Regions from separate parts of the Homo sapiens genome. Here regions 1 and 2 are each linked to region 3. The links are contacts of gene promoters, found by promoter capture Hi-C in blood cells and fetal thymus (Javierre and others, 2016). All regions are on one chromosome and are shown on one strand. Each heading gives the region's core, a stretch centred on a gene start or on the middle of the fragment in contact. The rest is flanking DNA. Distances are from core to core; before and after follow the strand shown. Region 1 overlaps SOS2 (SOS Ras/Rho guanine nucleotide exchange factor 2). Region 2 overlaps SOS2 (SOS Ras/Rho guanine nucleotide exchange factor 2). Region 3 holds the start of MAP4K5 (mitogen-activated protein kinase kinase kinase kinase 5).

Region 1 (3,122 bases), core at 623-3,122, 350 kb before region 3:
TCCAAGCAATCCTCTGACCTTAGCCTCCCAAAGTGCTGGGATTATAGGCAAGAGCCACCACGTCTGGCTGGAAAAGTCAGTTTAGATGTAGAAGTTTTACATATTTAGCCAAGTATTACCTATGCCAACATAACTTTTGTTGTTAGTGTTGAGATAGTAAAAATAAAATTTTATTTGTATCTCTCCACTTATTTTCATTTTATCTAAGTGTATTCCTGAACCAACTAACTTGCATACTCTCCCTCAATACAGTATTTATCTCCTTTAAATTGTAGGCCTCATAGAAAAATCAGTATGAGTACATAGGAGGTTGAGGTTATCTCAACTTTTTAAGATTTCTCCAAATCTTCCTCCTATAGGGAACATAATCCTGAAATCACACTCCAGATTCATCTTTATTTTTTATTTATTTTTCTATTTATTTTTTGAGACAGAGTCTCACTATTCCACCCAAGCTGGAGTGCAGTGGCGCGATCTCGGCTCACTGCAACCTCCGCCTTCCGGGTCAAGTGATTCTCCTGCCTTAGCCTCCTGAGTAGCTGGGATTACAGGAGCTCACCACCACGCCCAGCTAACTTGTGCAATTTTAGTCGAGACAGGGTTTCACCATGTTGGCCAGGCTGGTCTCAAACTCCTGACCTCAAGTGATCCACCTGTCTTGGCCTCCCAAAATGCTGGGATTCTAGGCATGAGTCACTGCACCCAGCCAAATTCATCTTTATACCCCAGATCTAGTATGTGCCAAATTCTTCTGGTCATTCAGTACTCATGATGTTGTACTATAAAAGATTTCTACAATAAGAACAGACAGAACTCCAGAGAGAAAACAGAAGATAATCCAAAACAGGTTTAGAATGAACAAGATTTGAAGGATTACGAGGATTCCAGAATTACAAATATTTGAAGGATAAAATAGTGAGATATTTATTTGCTTTATTAAAAAAAAAAAAAAAAAAAACCTTCAATTTAAGTTTACCTGAAAGTGTAGAGCAACTGCAGGTCTGGCCATCAATTTATTGAAATGTTCATGAAACTCTGGTGAAAGAATGTCCTGTGATAATGTTTCATAAGGATCAAATGCTTGCTCCTATTTTTTTAAAAAGAGAAAAAGCATTAGGTTTAAAAGAATATATTTTCTACCAATATGGTACAGATTATTATCACTTGATCCCAGGAGTTCGAGGTTACAGTGAGCTATGATTGTGCCACTATATTCCAGCTCGAGCAACAGAGTGAAACCCTGTCTCAAAAGAAAAGAAAGAAATGAAAAGAAAAAAGAGAAGAGAAGAAGAAAGATTTCTTTTCCCATTAGACTGGCAAAAATTAATGGGATATCTGCAGAACCGATATGAAAACAAAACAAATTTTGAAAAAAAGAATTAAAAAGAAAAAGAATAAGGTAATACCGAGTTAGTGAAGGGAAAGGGTGAAGAAAGAAGGAAGCTTACATACACTGGAACTTAGCTGGAAGTGAACGTGGCAAAGTGTTTCCAAGTTCTAAAAATGTATCTAGTCTTTAGCACTACAATTCCACTTCCAGGAATATATCCTTAAAAATGATTAGAATATATGACTGGGCGCGGTGGCTCATGCCTATAATCCCAGCACTTTGGGAGGCCGAGGCGGACGGATCATGAGGTCAGGAGTTCGAGGCCAGCCTAGCCAACAGAGAGGAACACCGTCTCTACTAAAAATACAAAAAATTAGCTGGGCGTGGTGGCAGGCGCCTGTAATCCCAGCTACTCAGGAGGCTGAGGCAGGAGAATGGCTTGAACCTGAGAGGCAGAGGTTGCAGTAAGACGAGATCGTGCCATTGCACTCTAGAATGGGTGACAGAGGGAGACTCCATGTCAAAAAAAAAAATGATTAGAATATCAAGGCATAGTGCAAATATGTTTGTTGCAGTGTTGTTTACAATAACAAAAAAAAAAAGGAAAAAACTCTACAACCTATGGATAATAGATAGTTAAAATATGTTATGGTGTCTCCATATAACATCACATTATTTATACTTAAAAATTGTGTTGAAGTATATACATTAACATGGACAATGTTTATGATATACAGAGTAAAAACAGTAAGTTATAAAATAGTGGGATCCTATTTTTGCAAACACACATACATTCGTATGTATGCACAGAAATATATAAGGATAAGTTATCTCTGGGTGTTATAAAATAAAGTGACTTTCATCTAATTTATATATCTATTTTTCTGAATATTTTTACAATGAGCTACATTATTTTTATAGTCATTTAAAAGATAAAATGATTTTTACTTTGGAAAACATTAAAATAATATAAAGCTTCTTTCCAACTTTAAGTTTAAAATCCATAGAAGGTAAAGAGCTATGGTCAATAAAATGTATCTTCCTTCATCTTGAATATACTTACCACTAAAAAAAAAAAAAAAACCTAAATGTTACTACTCTAGTTTATATACTACTCTAGTATATAAACTTTCACTATAAATATTGCCATAAACACACTATAAAGAAAGTGTCACTATATAGGCAATGTGATTTTAGTTTGTTATCAGTTAAATCTTAAATATCTTTTTATAATGGCCAGTGGTATCTTCTAATTTTCATAAAGAATATCTTACAAAAAAATTTTGTTTTTTGGAGACAGGGTCTCACTCTGTCGCCCAGGATGGAGTGCAGTGACACAATCATGGGCTTGATCTCCCAGGCTTCCTACCTCAGCCTCCTGAGTCACTGGGACCACAGATGGGCACTACCATGCCTGGATAATTATTTTACTTTTTTATGGAAACGGGGTCTCACTATGTTGCCAAGACTCATCTCTAAGTTTCTTACTACAGCATTTAGGGCTTTAATGAGAATATAAGTAGTTTTGTAAACTTACTTCTGCCAAATCTTCAAAACAGCTGCCAGCTAAGGGATGAGGACTGCTTTCATCAGTCATTTCAACTGTGTCTTCAATCAAACCTAAAAGTTTCACAGTCAATTCATGTATATCTGAAATGTTACTAAAAATCTTTTCGATATCCTGAAAAAAGAGAAGGAAGGTTAAGAAATGTGAGATTGAGAATTCTGCTAAAAAATTACTAAATATAAAGAGCAATATAGGCTACTCGAGGCAGACTGCCTATGGAATAGC
Region 2 (3,521 bases), core at 675-3,174, 380 kb before region 3:
TTCATAATAAAATGTTAGAAAAATTACTACCACCCATTTTACTAGAAATCTTTCAATATTTATATAAACAGGTTTAATAACTTGGCTTGGATTTCACAGTTTTCCACTCCATCCAATTCCATACAGGTAATCTCATCTACTACTTGCAATACAATGCCTACATTCCTCTCAGGTCAATGTCCTTATCTGTGTCCTCAGCACACCATTCTCATTTCTGCCTTCTTGTCTTTGTTCATACTATTTCTCATGACCCTGAATACCTACAGTCACCTTTCTACCTATCTAAAGCCTATACATCCTTTAGGGGCAGTCTCAGATTTTACCTTCTCCAAGATGCCTTCCCTAATTACTCTGGCCTAATCTTTGCTATTCCTGAAATTGTATAGGGATGTATTTTTCTAAGTCACTTAAGCACTCCAAGTAGAACAATATATAACTGTTTCATGTGTCTTTTTCCCCCAGTAAAGTCCCCAAGAAAGCCACAATATCATGACAGTCTATGTTATTTTTGTACTTAGCATAGTTATAAGTACAGGACTGAGAACACAGCAAATGCTTAGAAATACATAAAGAGCTTATATGACTGAGAAACGAAGATTATACTCCCACCCCCTACCCCACCCAATAGCAACCTCATAAATGTATGTGTCATATCAAGGGATTTAATGTGATTGTAGATAAGTACAAATGCATCACAGCTAGTAGAAAAGAATTACTTATTTATTGCTGATACATAAATAATCTCATCTTCTTATACAAAGAATGACGTTAAAAGTTTTAGTGAAAGACATATAGCTGGGAGCACTATCATTCTTCTAAAACTGCATTTGTTTGTGGCAATTATCCTGGGAAATAAATAACTAATATACTCAGTTCCAAAATTACAATTTATTGGTCAACAGTAATCAAGGAAACTTGAAATTTAGAGAGAAAAAAAATTTAAATTACATATAATTAATAAGATAACTTGGTTTCCAATGGAAGGAGGAAGATAATACTTTGGTTACTTGGACAGTAAAGAGGGCTAAGAGAAGGCGCTTCCAATTTTCAATGCTTAGTGGTACGTACACACACACACACACACACACACGCAAAGAAAGTCAGACATGAGTCTGAATCTTGTCCTGCCACTCCCTTTACATAACTTAGCTCAAATTACTTCACCTTGCTAGGTTTCAATTTCCTTATATATAAAGTAGGAATAGTAATCATGTTGTAAGAATGAGATAAAAAAGATAAAGCATTTAGGGTAATCCCCGGCACACAGTAGTATTTATTAACTGGAAGCTTCTACAATCAAACACATTTTTAGAAATTATTGCAATTAAACTAACAAATGTCTATATATTTTGTGAGAGATAAGTGGGAAAAGGGCTAGAACTTCCACAAATATTATAAATTGTAAAAAAAGCCAGGATTACTGTATGATCGCAAAGGGAAATGAAGGAAAAAAGTGTGAAAAAAGGTTGACAGCAGGAAAGCTCACATGAAATTTTATAATTTTTACTTACAATAAAAAATAGGTATCCTGATACGTAAGCATAACATATCACATGCCAGAGATATGTGATGCAAACATAGGATATTTAAATATTTGAATTTCTTCAGGGTATTTAAGAATAGCTTCACTGAGAAAGAACTCTTTTAGTTTAACTTAACTGCTGTGAAGTTAAAAATATTCCCTATATTTGAATTAAAAGCTGAGAGCTTTTGTGTTAACTATATATTGAAAACTGACACATAAAATGTGTGTGTGTGTGTATATATATGTGTATATATATATATATAAAAAATATTCAAGCCAAACCTAAGTTGTACTGGTTGGACATATTCCTTGCGAAATCTTTTAAGGTCTGCACTGATTGGCTGCTCGCCTTTCTCTATTGCCAATTTGTCTGCGTCAGTAGGTTCTGGCTCTGGAATTTCAAACCTAAGAAGAAAAGCAAAAGGAGAAAAATCCGTTCATACATAATGAAAATACAAGGAGGAAAACAGCAAGCAACCTTCTTTCCTACCACTTCCACGAAAAGTGGATTACTGTTAAACTTCCCTTGAGGTATGATATACTACAAAAAACTGTCCTTTGGCTATACAAAACTGACGTTTTGTATTCTTACTTTTATAAAAACTAAAGTTTTGTCTTTTAGCACTGATAATACAGAAAAGGTCCAGGGAAAAGAGCCAAGGAAAGAATTCATAAGGAATTTAAAGAACATGACAGAAATTGCTTATCTAACAATGTCTTTAATATTTATATTATTAAAATGAAAGTAGGCTAATAAATTTATTTAAATGAGTACAAATTCAAAGAGAGGGCCAAAACCGAATATTTAACAATATTTAAATAATTTACCTAAGTGGATAAGATAAAGATAAAAAACCTTGCTCAAACATAGGAAATACAGCTAAACTATAAGTCTAACGTGTGCTTTCCTTATTCTGGACATGGAAACAACTAAGTAGATCCTCATAGCACATTACACTGACTCAGTCTGGTAAATTTAGTTTGATAAAACAACATAGTGATAGAGATCTAGAATTATATCTTGATAATACAGTTAATAAGCTTTGGTATAATAATAAGTTTTAGTAAGTTTTAAAACGTAAAACTAAAAATCATTCTGGAGTCCAGATTCTACATTTTAAACTATAAAACATTTAAAATGCCACTATAATACTAGGTAAAACAAATTCAACCCAACACTAATTTTTAAAAGTTAATCATAATAAAGGAATTGCTGATTTTTTAGGTTTAATAATGATATCTGATTATTAAAAATGATCCCGTATTTTCTAGAGATACATAGAAAAATATTTATAGATGAATTATGTTGTCTAGGATCTACTTCAAAATAATCATGGGGTGGGGTGTTTAAATTTGTAGGGAAACAGATGAAACAATGAGTTGATAATTACTGAAGGTGGTTGATGAATAAATGGGTTTATTATATTCTTGTATCTGCTCTTGTATGTGTTTTGAAAGTTTTCATAACAAGTTTGTTTTAAAAGTGGAAAGTATTTGGCAAAGTAGTCTACGGTCCAAAAAAAAAAATAGTGGTAAGTAGAAAAGTCTCTTTTAAGAAAATATCATTTTATTACACAGAACAATATTCATTAAAATATAGTGCTTTCATCCTCTAAATTAGTCTTTCTGATTACCACTTGAAATATTTCTAAGAGCTGAAAAGATCTGTGTTTATAAACAGATTTTAGGGAGTACTCCATTTGAAGAGAATAGTAATACTGCCAATTTAATGCCAAATAAAATATGTTCAATAATTAACTTGAGTATTTATTAGGTACTAGGCACTTTACAAAATACAGTTAATTTTTCACAAAATGTCAATATAACTGAAATACATATTTTTCTTACCGTTCAATCAGTAAGCTCAGCAATTCCTGTGGTTTACAAAATGAACGATATGTGGTAAGAAAAGTACGAACAAAATTGGGATCTGAAAAGGCAGAGCATAAAATAGGTTTCATGTTTAATGTATTCAGTTTAATTAACTCAAAGTACC
Region 3 (3,313 bases), core at 1-2,500:
AATCCCTGAAAGGAACCGCTAAAGTAAAACAAAACCCAGCAAGTTAATATCACATTTTTATCGCCAACCAAAAACAAACGATCAAACTTCCACCAGGAAAAGCATCTTTTTATATGGGATAATGCTTGCATAAATGTCACCAATATTAGTTTGCTTACAGTTAAAGCTCAGAGACAGGGTTTCATATGGCTTTTTTAGTCAAACTCATCCATTGAAACAAATTTTTTTAAAAAAATGCAAATGTCTGAATGTCAATATTCTTTCCTGTCTATCTTCCATGAAGCATTTTTCCATGCTAACACTAGAGCATCCTTCGGTGTAATTCCACAAGCAGATTCAAATTCCCTTCAATACCATAAATAAGCCCTATTAAAAAGCCTTTAAACCACAAAAAAAGTGCAACAGCGGTTTGCAACTGTGTGGTTAGTTCTGCCTGTTGGTAGCGATTAGAACAAGCCATGAGTCGAGGGTGCTCAGAACCGAGTAAAAGGGACCCCGGCCGCTTTCTCCCCAAGAGGCAACAATAAAAGCATCCTCCTCTCGCCCCAATACTTCGCAGGAAAGTGGCCCCATTCCCGGGACCCAGTCGACCGCAGGAAAAAAGCACGGCCAGCCTCACTTACCTTATAGACGTCCCCGTAGGTGCCGCTGCCGACCCTCTGGACGAGTTCGTAGTCCTGCTGCGGGTTCCGCCTCAGGATGTCCGCGGCAGGCCGCAGCGGGGCCTCCATCTTCACTTAGGGCCCGGCCCCCGCCAGCTCACCCCGCGGCTCCCGGATTCCCGCTAACAAGCACGAACGGCGCCGCTTCCCAACATGGAGCCTCCGCCCGCAGCTCCGTCTGCACGAGGGACGAGCAAAGGCTGGTTGGCGTCGCAGGCTACGACCCCCAGCGGCCCGCGCCCTCGCGGCCCGGCCCCTTCCCTTCCGTCCCGCCAGGGGCCGTGGAAGAGAAAGGGGCCTGGAAGGGCCCCCGGCGCCCCGTATCCCCGTTCGGTCTGCGGCCCTTCCCCCTCCCCGGCCGCCCGCGAACTGCCCGACGAGGCCTCCCCGCCAGCCGGGGCCCAGGGCCGGCTCCGTACCTAATGGGGGCGGCCCCGTCTTTGTTGAGCGCGGAGCCCGGGACCTACTTCCTAGACCGCACCCGCGTCCTCCTCCCGCGCGCCGGCCGGCAGCTCCGGGTTTGCCGTCGCCGCCGCCGCCACTCAGCCGCTGCACGGCGCGTCCTCTCGGGGGCGGCGGAGGCGCGTACAGTCGCCGCCGCCGCCGCCGCCGCACCACGTTCCCCACCCGGGGCTGCGTCACCGGGAGACACGTTCCCAGCCAGCATGGGTCGGCGCCCAGCGGCCCGCCCGAGCACTCCGGCCGCAGAACCAGAGTGCCGCCCTGAGGCCTGCTGAGAACACAACACCCTCCCGACCGCGCCACCGCGCCCCCCTAGCCGGGCGCGTCCTTGCAGGGCCTGGGCTGTCTCCCTCCCACTCTCAGAAATAAGGCACACGCCTGGGCATTCGTGGGCCAACGGGCCTTGGCTAAACCGTCCCCACATTTGTCAGGTAGGCCTGTAGGGTGACGGGTAGAGGAAGAAGGGCGATGGGAACGTAGCCCTCCAAGTTAAACACGGAAAAGGTACGTTAAGGGCACCGGGCCAGAAGTAACCTGGCAGCGGGGCGCCGGGGAAGGAGGTGGGGGAGTGCCAGGTTAACTAAGTCCCGGCACACCCTACTGCACCTTCCTGTTTTGCAAACCGATCCCGGTGGTACCAGTTTGAGGCTGCACTGCACACCTGCACAACCTGCCTTCTACTTAGTTCTTCTGAGACATTTCTGAAAGTCTGAATTCCTAGGACTGCTCAATGACCTTTGTCCCTGTTGGGCACACGCAGTGTCTCATCGCTGGTATTGCACCTTTAATGAGACCAGGAGTTCCGCAAAAGTAAAACAAAGGGGTCACAGACTGGTTCTGGTTCTACCACTTCCTCAGTATGTGCTCTGGGACAAAACAGCATATTTGGCAACATCTCGGTGTCCTTATCTGCAGCTTGAAGAGGGTAAGATTTTGCATCTGACACCCAGGAAAGTGTTTATAAAGCGTTTTACAGGATAGTAAGGGGGGTTATCGAATATAAGAGGTCTTAAAATACTTAACAATGCACAGCATATATGGAACAGGAGTTCGGGGAAGTAATTTGGCTGATATTTCACAAGCTGTTTTGCAGTTTCAGTTCCAGTCTTGCTCTGAAGGTAGAAATTAAGTTGCCAGTGTTACATTATACTGGCTAAGTTATTTCTAGAGCCTCATAGAGAATTTGAACAGAAAAGCCAGATAACACTCAGCCACTGCATTTAGTGACTGAAACATCATAAAAGAGCAAGTTGGAGATGTTGGCTTGTGGCTTTGAACATCCAATTTTTAATTCTGCTCTTGAGAATTAAAATACTCCTTATTGTTGATAATTGTATAATGTATAATAAGGAGTAATTGACAATACTCCTTATTGTTGATAATTGTATAATGTAGAAATTAAATTCGCACCTTAACAGGACAGGGCATATATGTATTTTCTTGTGCTCCACACACAAAGGGCACTTATTTGGGGAACATAAGTAAGCCCAGACTTACATGCTCCATGGACAAAGCCTATGTGTTTGCTGCATTGAAAAAATTGTTGAAGAACAGTTCCTTCTTTCAAAGATTCTTGGCACTTGTTTTGGTGGGCACATACTTTTGGCTTCGATGACTCAAAATCTCTTCAAATGTTCTATTGGTATCTTAGCACTTGTTTACTGTCATAGATTCATTTGAGATTTTTTTCCTCTGGCCATATAAGCACTGATCCTTTATCTAGTCTGAAATATATTTATTCTTACATGTTTACACTTGCGTTACTCCAGGGAATTTCAGGCAGCACACAGAAAACACTTACTATAAAACAAGATAAAAATAAGTGGGCAAACTAGTATGACGTTAAAGAGAAGGAAAATACGAAACCAGAACAGTGTGACAAATCGGCCAACCAGAGGATTTTATAGTGTTTTTGAGATCAAGAGTAACCAATTGATCAAGAAGAGGCATATATTTTCCTAATGCAAAGACTTCCAAAAATTTTATTTAATGAGCCTTCTTCATAAAGTAGAAACTGAATGCCCAGTTTGAGACGAGGACAAATATCCTGACAATCCTTTAAGCATGTTATTCTTGAAATACAGCATTTAAAATGAATTAGGCAGTGAAATGTTTGAGGTCATAGGCTTCAACAAGACCCTGGAGTGCGGATATTTTATGTTGCCAGTAATGGCAGATCCATATGCTTT

The links. Contacts are between HindIII fragments. The CHiCAGO score rates a contact against its expected background, and 5 or more counts as called.
Region 1: a contact is called between a fragment that was not itself captured here and the fragment with the promoter of MAP4K5 in region 3, in 1 of 17 cell types (erythroblasts). The highest score is 5.2, in erythroblasts.
Region 2: a contact is called between a fragment that was not itself captured here and the fragment with the promoter of MAP4K5 in region 3, in 1 of 17 cell types (erythroblasts). The highest score is 5.3, in erythroblasts.

What each region holds. Positions count from the first base shown.
Region 1 is chr14:50,179,596-50,182,717 of GRCh38, forward strand. It overlaps SOS2 (SOS Ras/Rho guanine nucleotide exchange factor 2), which reads right to left. Exons shown (of 23, transcript NM_006939.4): 6 at 2,868-3,011; 7 at 977-1,087. Among named protein-coding and RNA genes, the nearest start is that of SOS2, 50 kb to the right of the region's middle. The HindIII fragment of the contact is 862 bases long and covers 1,442-2,303 here.
Region 2 is chr14:50,155,192-50,158,712 of GRCh38, forward strand. SOS2 (SOS Ras/Rho guanine nucleotide exchange factor 2) reads right to left here. Exons shown (of 23, transcript NM_006939.4): 11 at 3,374-3,455; 12 at 1,808-1,930. Among named protein-coding and RNA genes, the nearest start is that of VCPKMT, 40 kb to the left of the region's middle. The HindIII fragment of the contact is 1,279 bases long and covers 1,286-2,564 here.
Region 3 is chr14:50,531,319-50,534,631 of GRCh38, forward strand. It overlaps MAP4K5 (mitogen-activated protein kinase kinase kinase kinase 5), which reads right to left and starts at 1,251. Exons shown (of 33, transcript NM_006575.6): 1 at 1,130-1,251; 2 at 624-840. The coding sequence starts at 731. It also overlaps a transcript of ATL1 not described here. RefSeq lists a silencer at 945-1,574. The HindIII fragment of the contact is 11,447 bases long and covers 1-3,313 here.